Linked DNA regions of Homo sapiens: region 2 is linked to region 1. The links are contacts of gene promoters, found by promoter capture Hi-C in human tissues and cell types (Jung and others, 2019). All regions are on one chromosome and are shown on one strand. The core of a region is centred on a gene start or on the middle of the fragment in contact, and the rest is flanking DNA. Distances in the headings are between cores, read along the strand shown.

Region 1 (4,347 bases), core at 1,305-3,804:
AATACAACCAAGTCACTTAAGCTCCCTTAACCCCAGGTTTCACATCTATAAAATAGATTCTTATAACTACCACAGGATTATTAGCACTGGTAAATGAAACAGCTTTTGTAAAGTGATTTCTAACATATGATAATAATTATTGTGAACCTACAGTTGACAGAGGATGGAAATAGAGATACTGATGAAGGAAAAGAGCAATGTGTCCATGGTGCCGCTGTTATACATCTTGGACTCATATAAACAACTTCTTCAAAGTGTGTTTCATTCATCTGTAGTGTAACAGAGCTACTCTCTTGGTTCTGAGTTATCCAACAGTAGTATTTTTTTTTGCATTAATTGTACTACAGTATCAAGAGAAAAGAACTATTAAGTTCTGTGACATTTTGTTTATAAGCTCTAACCATAGTTACTACATTTTTATTTTTATTTTTTTTTTTGATGGAGTCTTGCTCTGTTAGCCAGACTGGAGTCCAGTGGCGTGATCTCTGCTCACTGAAACCTCCGTCCCCTGGGTTCAGGCGATTCTCCTGCCTCAGCTTCCCAAGTAGCTGGGATTACAGGTGCCTGCCACCACACCTGGCTAATTTTTGTTTTTTGGTAGAGATGGGGTTTCACCATGTTGGCCAGGCTGGTCTCGAACTCCTGACCTCAGGTGATCTGCCCGCCTCGGCCTCCCAAAATGCTGGGATTACAGGCATAAGCCACCGCACCCGGCCATTTTTAAAAGAAAAATTTAGACTAGGTTATGAACTGTGTTTTGTTAGGGAGAAAAAAACCTGTGTAAGGCTAATACATGTATATATTTTACATATACATATATACATATGTATATATCAAACCTGTGTTATATATATATATAAAAACTGTGTAATATATGTATATATAAACCTGTGTAAGGCTAATATATGTACATATAAAACTTTACATATATAAATATATTTATATATGATTATATAAATTAATATATTTATAATAAATATATATACACACGCACACACACACACATATATATATATGGCCTATGTGAGGACTATTCTTTGAAGTCTAAAAGGCATAGCTTTGTGAAAATTATAAAGGGTCTGAGGCACTTGCTCCAGAAATACTTCCCAAACTGACCTACTTCTGTTTTCCAGCAACTCATATCTGAGTGTTGATTTTTTTTTCCTTTTAAACAAAGCTCCGTCTGCTCTCATATACCTCACTTCAGCTGTCATCTAGCTCCAGATAAGATGAATGTTGCTCCAATGCTGGTCATTTTCCAGGACTCTATGATATTAAATGAACCTATCTAGCCTAGTGATCCTCAAGTATATGCCTGTGTGCGTGTGTGCATGTGTCTGTCTGTCTGTAGTGTGGGTTTGCTTGTGAGTGGTAGAGATTATCATCTGGTGGTGACATCTCCATTCGGTTAGCTTGTGGGAGTGGTGGTACAGACTTTTTTTTTTCCTCCTCCACAGGGGACATAGGTTGAGAAACTCTGGCCTGGCAATTTAATGCTCAGTGCAGTTTGATGGTGATAAAACTCCTGAAGAAGGCAAGAGTGAGGCCTGAGTCTTGGAGAGTAAGTTGTTGCCAGTGCCTGACAGGCCTTCGGTTTAATTTGAAGCTGGAGGCCACATTGATAAAGTCGGCCCCGAAAGTCATTGCCTGTCTGATCGAATGCCGGTTTACCCAGCGGAGGCTGGGGGCCACGTGAGCTCACTTTCTTTGGTTTTCTACCCAGCAGCCCAGAATATTACCTTCCTGAAACCCTTTTTCATCAGCTAGCGATTCCTGAAAAGGATCTTCAAGATTTTTATGTTTCTCAGAACCTAGCAATAACTTGGAAAAGTTTTCCAAGTAACATTGATGTGTGGGTGTTCGGGGGCAGACAAGTTAAGGAGCAAGGCACCCTTTTTGAGGACCCGTGGCATGCAAATGACTTATCAGAATGCACATAGTATGACAGTAAACACCGTTTCTTACAGAGGTGAAATAACTCTCACTCCACAGAGACGGAAGTGACCCGAAGCTAGCAGTCCCCTGTATTTGCTTGTGTGACACCGAACATGTCAGATCAGGGTGTAGGAAACTATGCCTAGCGCAGAGGAGGGTAAAGGAAGTAGGGAGTCTGGTGGCTGCGGCGCTCCAGCTTCCAGCCACCGGCAGAGGAACCCTCTACGGCTTGAAAGGGAAACGCAGCCACTCAGCCGCTTCGACTGCGGCGGCGAAACCAAAACAGGGTGGGGCGGGGTGGGTGGTGCTCTCTAGTGGAAGGCGCCCGCTGGGTGAGGTCGTTTTGTCTGGCGGGGGGCTAGGACGGTCAGCCCGGGAGGAGGAAAGGCGCGTCCCGCCTCCAGCTGCAGGGCCAGGCGGCGGCGCCCGCTGGCGTCGCTTTCCCTCTCCCGGTCGGCCTCGGTGCAGGCCAGGCTGGGCGGGCCGGGCGGCGCTTGGGGGCCGGGCTCGGAGTCCCCACTTTTCCTCCCTCCTTCCCTCCTCTCGGGGCCGTCCCGAGCGGCCGGGCCAATGGGCGCGGAGAGGAAGGGAGCGGGAAGCGGGGCGCCTTGGGCCCGGCCCTCCTACGGCGCCCGTGGCTGCAGCGCCAGCGCCAAAGCCAAGTTTGCGCCTCGAGAGTTTGCGCCTCGAGAGTTTGCGCCGGTTCGCATTCCCCGGCCTCCCGTTCGCTCCCCCGCGAACCAGGCGGCCGTGCGCCTCTCGGGGCAACCACCCAAGAGCACCCGGGCGGGAGGACGCCGAGCAGGGGGTGTTGCGGGCTGGGACAGGGGCAGCCACCTCCCGAAGATGCAGGATGGCAGCAGAGCCGCAGCCGTCCAGCCTTTCCTACCGCACCACGGGCTCCACCTACCTGCACCCGCTCAGCGAGCTCCTGGGCATCCCGCTGGACCAGGTAACTGCAGGCCGGGAGCGCAGCGACCCCAGCTCCCCAGCGATCGCGTGCACGGGGCGGGCGAAAGTGTTAGCCACCGTCCCTCCGCCTCCATGGCGTATTTTACAGCCACACACTAGACAGTTGGTTTTTGTGTGTGTGTGTGTGTGTGTGTGTGTGTGTGTGTTTTCCCTTCTTGAGTTGGTGTTAGTGTTTTTCTCCTTGTAAGTGTGAAAAAATATTGGTACAGCCTGCGCGGCAAGTTCTACTGAACTTTTTTTTCTTTAAGTTTGGGATTGCCTCGTTTCCTGTAATCAAGTTCTGAAGTAGTCTGATACATGAAACCAGTGTTTCTTTCATCAGTGTCCTCAAGTCGTTATTGTTTTTAATTTAGATGACCCTACTTAAAAAACAAGCGCGATGAATCTGTAGACGGTAGTCTATAGATTTTGAATGCAGGACCTGGGTTTTAGACTTCTGAGGCGAGGCTTGTTCAGGGGTGACAGTTATTTTGTACCGTGTGTGATGCGGGACACACAAGGACACTTTGGTTTTCCCAGGGTTCGGTTGGCTCATATGCCTGGGGCTGGAGCTTCTGAGTAGGACAGGTTAGGGGGAGGAGAGGGGCCCCAGTGAAGTTATTTGAACTGTCCAGGAATTATCTACAACCATTAAAATTAAAAATGGCAACAACAGTGATTCCTGGCAAGAAACCTTCCTGAAGATGAAGCCCGTCTTACTCATTTCCTTGTCTCTTCAGGTGCTGCAGGCTAGATCTGCGGGATACTTAGTAGTGACCCAATCAGTAAATGTTGATTTAAATAGAATTGGGCAGGGCATGCTGGGGGAGGACCCACTGCGCTCCTGTTTTGTTTCATGCTTTTTTGCCTGGTTTTCTTCCCCTTCCTCTCACCAGTGCTCCTTTTCCTTTCCTTTTAACAAGAGCACACCTGCTGCCCTTTGCGCACACCCCTTCAGCAATGAGAAAGTGAGACCTGGACATTTGCCTTATTCGGGTCCTGTTTACTGAGCCACCCTCATACCTGGCTCACTCTGAGGACCTGACTGAGAACTCCACCTGATGTGACCATTGCGTTCTCATCAGTTGCAGAATACAGAAAGTCAGAAACTTGGGAAGGGTTTCGGTGCCAAAGCATTTGTGCTTTTGTAAATTACTCTTTAGTTTCTGGTGAGGATGAGATAGACCCAGGGACCCAGGCAGAGGCGGACATAATAGCAAATTCTTTAGTTCTGAAATTAAATAAAACTCATAGCTGAATTTCCTTAAGGGGAGTTTGTTTTGTACTTACCTCTCCACTCCCTATCAGAAGGTATTTTAATTGCATTTTCTCTTCTAAGCTCTTCTACACAGCTAGAAAGACTCCAGGAAGGCTTTTTGTATGGCTAAAGGACCATGGCAAGTTATGGCTGGGAGGTGCTAGAATAATGTTTTTAATGTCTTTCAATTGCATCCCCTACTT
Region 2 (4,347 bases), core at 958-3,457, 1.5 Mb after region 1:
TGGAAGATGTTGAAAATCACTTTGTATTAAGCCACTCTGCAACTACTTAGGAATCATATTTTTAAAACGTATTTTATTAACCAGAATTCAACTCTACCTGTAGCTCCGCTATTCATAAGGATCATCACAAATTGATTGTTCAATGTTGTATTAATTCCTATTACACATTTTCATGGCTAAATATAGAAAAATAATGACTTTCACATTTTTTTAAATGAGAGTGTAAAATTCTTGAATGCTAGAGTGACATATATTTAAAGGCACCCGAGAAATTAGTCTGCTGATTTTCCATGTCTTATACATCCAAAATCTCACAGCTCAAGTTTTCATTTTCACCATGTATTTTGGCAGCTTCTAAGATAACCCCAAATAATTACACTGTTTTCTTAGGGCTGTTAGAATAAGGGTCTATATACTCCTTATACAAACCTACAACAGTTTGAGTCTTCACAAATCAAATCATTGAGACTACACACCCACACAGAAGCTATAATGAAAGGAGTTTATAAATAAAAGGGTTTTTTACCACCTACTCTCTGAACCATCATATTCCTCTGGAAGGAAGTTTTAAAAGAAAAAAAATGAGAGAAAATGGCTGTGTGTGTGTGTGTGTGTGTATGAGAGGGAGAGAGAGAGGGAGAGAGAGAGAGAGAGAGAGAGAGAGAGAGAGAGTGTGTGTGTGTGTGTGTGTGTGTGTGTGTGTGTGTGCGCGCGCGCACGCGCGCGCAGGATCAGATTGCCCTCTGGTGGACAGTTTATTTCTTCCTTCTTTTAAGATACAACAAAGGAGAAAGAAAAGTAACAATAAAAAAACAGGGAAAAAGGAAACTAGAAAATTAAAAAGCAGAGGAAAAATTGGGAAAGGAAAGAATATAGAAAAGAACAAAGTCAAGAAAAAGGAATGGAACTAGGAAATACTGGTGAAAGACAATAAGGAAATCAAGGAAAAAGAAAGAAGGTTGAGGATCGTGAGAAAAAAAAACAAAGACCAAAAACTGGCTAGTGTCACCTTATACTTAATCAATCCTGGAATTATTTATGGAGAAATAAAATACTTGTAATTACAAATGCTAACTATATCTGGCATTTTAACTTGTTAAACGTTTTCAACATATCTGCTAACTACATGCATGTAAAGTAAGCTTTAATAGCAGCTGTTAGACTTCATGAGAATTGGGGGAGCGTTTTGCAGAACCTAACTGAGAAGAAAGTTTAGAAAAGAAAAACTGCTTTTCTTTACACTTTTTAAAAGTTGCATATAAATCCCAACCGAACATACAAGTCAAGACACGGTGTGCTTTGGCATTTTACATATTTACCATAAAAAGGGGTTTAAAATGTGTACTTTTTTTAATGTTATTGACTGATTGAATAATTTGCTCATAGATTTTTTAGCCATTTGGATGTCTTGAGAGGGAAAAACCACAGGTTAAAATATTATAAAATTTAAGATAAATAAGTTTTAAAAATCCAGTTTGTTACATAAGGAGTACCATAGACAATTGTTTTATTGACAACTGCCAATGTCTCCCACTCATTCTATTATAAAAGTTTGGAATGTGTAACATTTATGTTAGCTAAGCGGAAAGAAACATTCAGAGGAAGCTCAAAGCATCATCCTCATGCCCTCAAACCTGCATTTACCAGAAATACCTGCAGCCAGGGCCACGGCCCCTCTGCCCAGGAGTAGACATAACACTTCCACTGCCTGCTGTGAGCGCACGCTGCAAGGACCCAGAAGAGCAGCTCTCAAGCCCAGCTCCTAATCTTTTCTCCTTAGCCTGCACCAGTGTAGAGCTCAGTGCCTTCCAGGGGCTTAACACCACCGCCCTGCACTACTGAAACAAACACAGTGGTCTCCCACCTTGTTGAATTCACCAACAATGGCTTTCTGCTATAATAAGGCTGTAAGCTCCTTTAAACGGTTATTCAAAGAGATGCTTTAGGAGAGAATAGAATTAGGTTCATTGAAAGTCTTTTAAGCAATCTTGGAGCATACAACCAAACTGAAGCTCAGTGATGGAGAAAGGGAATGCGTACACATCGGTTGTGGCAGAAATCAGAGGCACAGATGTAACAGAGGGGGAACAAAAACAAATTCTGAAGTTCTTTTTTCCATACACAGACCTGTTCCTTCTACCCAAGAAAGAACAGTTAATGAAGCCACATGAGCATCCCTCCCTGCCAACAGGTAAGAAGTCCTGAGGCTATGACCCCTTGTCCCTCCTCCTCAAGGGCACACCTGGGCACAGTGGCATCTCCTGAGTTCATTCTTGGCTTCACTTCCTCCTCTCAATTTATTTACTACTGTTATTTATTTCTATACTGAAAAGGAAAACCTACTTATCTCCACTAAGAACCTTCATTTTTGCTCAACCACAAGAAAATGAGCTTCCTGCTCTGCATGCAGGGTTCAGACAATAGGAAACATAGCTCTGCAATGGTGGGGGTAGAAATTCTAAATATCGTTAATGACAAATGTCTCCCAACTTTAATGTGATAAAGGTTTCACACCCAGGATAAAATGTATTTCCCATGTTTCAAAAGTTTTAACTTGGAAGATCATTGTTAGAACAGTTAACTTCGTCGGGGGAGGCATCACTGACTATACAGAGTTTGATGATACTAGAAGGTAAGTCCTCAACTTTAGAACTGGATACCAAAAAAAAAAAAAAGTTGGCAATTTTCTTTTGAGAAATTACAAACTTATCAAAACCAAAAATGTGGGGGTTTTCTTTCTCACTAAGCTAACGGGGTCAGTTTTCCCAAATGTCTAAATCAATCCATGACTGTAAATAGGACAATCGCAAAAACGTCAATTATTTTAGATGATAAAGATGATACATTTAAGCCTTATTTCTGCTTTGCAGCAATTTGGGGTGCTCACAAACAGTAATGCTAACTGTTGGCATTTATTATCAAGTGTGATGGGTAGAGTACCTCTCTAAACATAATCCAGGGTGCTAATGACAGAATGATCAGCTATATTTCAAACTGTTTGTAATACAAACTTTGTGCTTTCAGCAATTTGAGAAAATCAAAAATGATCTCAATTTTTGAAAATAACATCCTATTTAACCTAACTCTAGAAAAACGAAGCTTCAATCAATCAAGTTAGTTAAAAGAACATTTCTGTAACTAGATTAACTCATGCAATTCTCATTTATAAGATTAATTTTACTTGAGGCTCATAATTATTTCCTTAGTAATTACTAGCTTAGGCCCACAGCTATTGACTCTAAATTTCTTTATTCATTCAGAAAACATTTATTGACTACTAGGTGCTAGGAATACAATGTTGTTCTATTTTTAATCCATATTTTTCAGGTGTACACCTTAGAGAAGAGACAGACAAGTATATGACGTAATCGGATAAATGTCTCGACAATCTATTACAGCAGCTCAACAAAGGGCCACCTAATTGAACCTGGAAGTATCAGGAAGGCTTCCTGGAAAACGTGATAGCTAAGTGGAGTTTTTAACAATAGTAGTAATAATAACAACCTTGTTATTCTAAATGGTTCATATTTATTTTTTAATAAAAAATATTTCATATTTTTTATTTATGAATAAATATTTAATATTTGCAGCAGCCCCATGATCAATGTACTATTATTATCCATTTTACAGATAAGCAGGTGGAGGTAAAAAGGGGTTAAGTTACTTGCCCAAGTCAGTACAGACAGAGAGTGAAAGGGTCAGGATATAAATCTAGTCTAGCCTGAATCCATAGCCCATTTTTAACCACCCACTATGCTAAAATCTTTTCTATTTCAAGCAGAGGAAAGAAGGTGTTCAATGTGCTGAGATATGAGAAAACACCAAGCATTCAGGGACCTGCAAGCAGGTCAATAAAGTTAAAGCATAGTGTATGAGTAATGAGTGCCAAAAATAAGTGTAACTTTATCAGTAAGAATTGCAGGCACTGTTGGTTATAACTTTTGATTCACGTACACTGCTCAGAAAGACAAAGTTGTGCTGCAATAACAACACAACTTCAAAATTTCAGTGGCTTAAAACAACAAATGTTTATTTCTTGCTCATATGACACATCCAATATGGAAAGTTCTGCTCATGAGACCCACTTAGAAACCAAGGCTAATGTGGGCCATATCTTAACTCTTGGCTTCCAGGATTGTTCTGGCAGGAAAAGAGAGAATTGCGGAATCAAGCACCCGCAGTTAAATGCTTTGGCCCAGAAGTGATGTGTGTCACATTTCATTGTCCAATGCTAGTTACATGATGATACCTAACTTCAAGAGGGCAGGGAAGTACAATCCCTGTACTTGTACTTTGAATCTGAGCAGTACTTGAGATCAGTAACTGCATACCATAAGTTATTGTCTT

What was found. The method cuts DNA at HindIII sites, captures the fragments that hold promoters and counts their contacts. A contact is called where the count stands out against the background at its distance.
Region 2: a fragment that was not itself captured here is called in contact with the fragment with the promoter of MBOAT1 in region 1 in 1 of the 25 tissues and cell types used here (dorsolateral prefrontal cortex).

The regions. Positions count from the first base shown.
Region 1 is chr6:20,210,676-20,215,022 of GRCh38, reverse strand. MBOAT1 (membrane bound glycerophospholipid O-acyltransferase 1) reads left to right here and starts at 2,554. Exons shown (of 13, transcript NM_001080480.3): 1 at 2,554-2,887. The coding sequence starts at 2,789. RefSeq lists an enhancer at 1,526-2,026 and a silencer at 2,209-2,748. The HindIII fragment of the contact is 7,104 bases long and covers 1-4,347 here.
Region 2 is chr6:18,745,933-18,750,279 of GRCh38, reverse strand. It overlaps LOC105374957 (a long non-coding RNA gene), which reads left to right. Exons shown (of 3, transcript XR_926557.3): 2 at 2,126-2,191; 3 at 3,328-3,592. Among named protein-coding and RNA genes, the nearest start is that of TRQ-CTG1-1, 88 kb to the left of the region's middle. RefSeq lists an enhancer at 568-862. The HindIII fragment of the contact is 3,555 bases long and covers 430-3,984 here.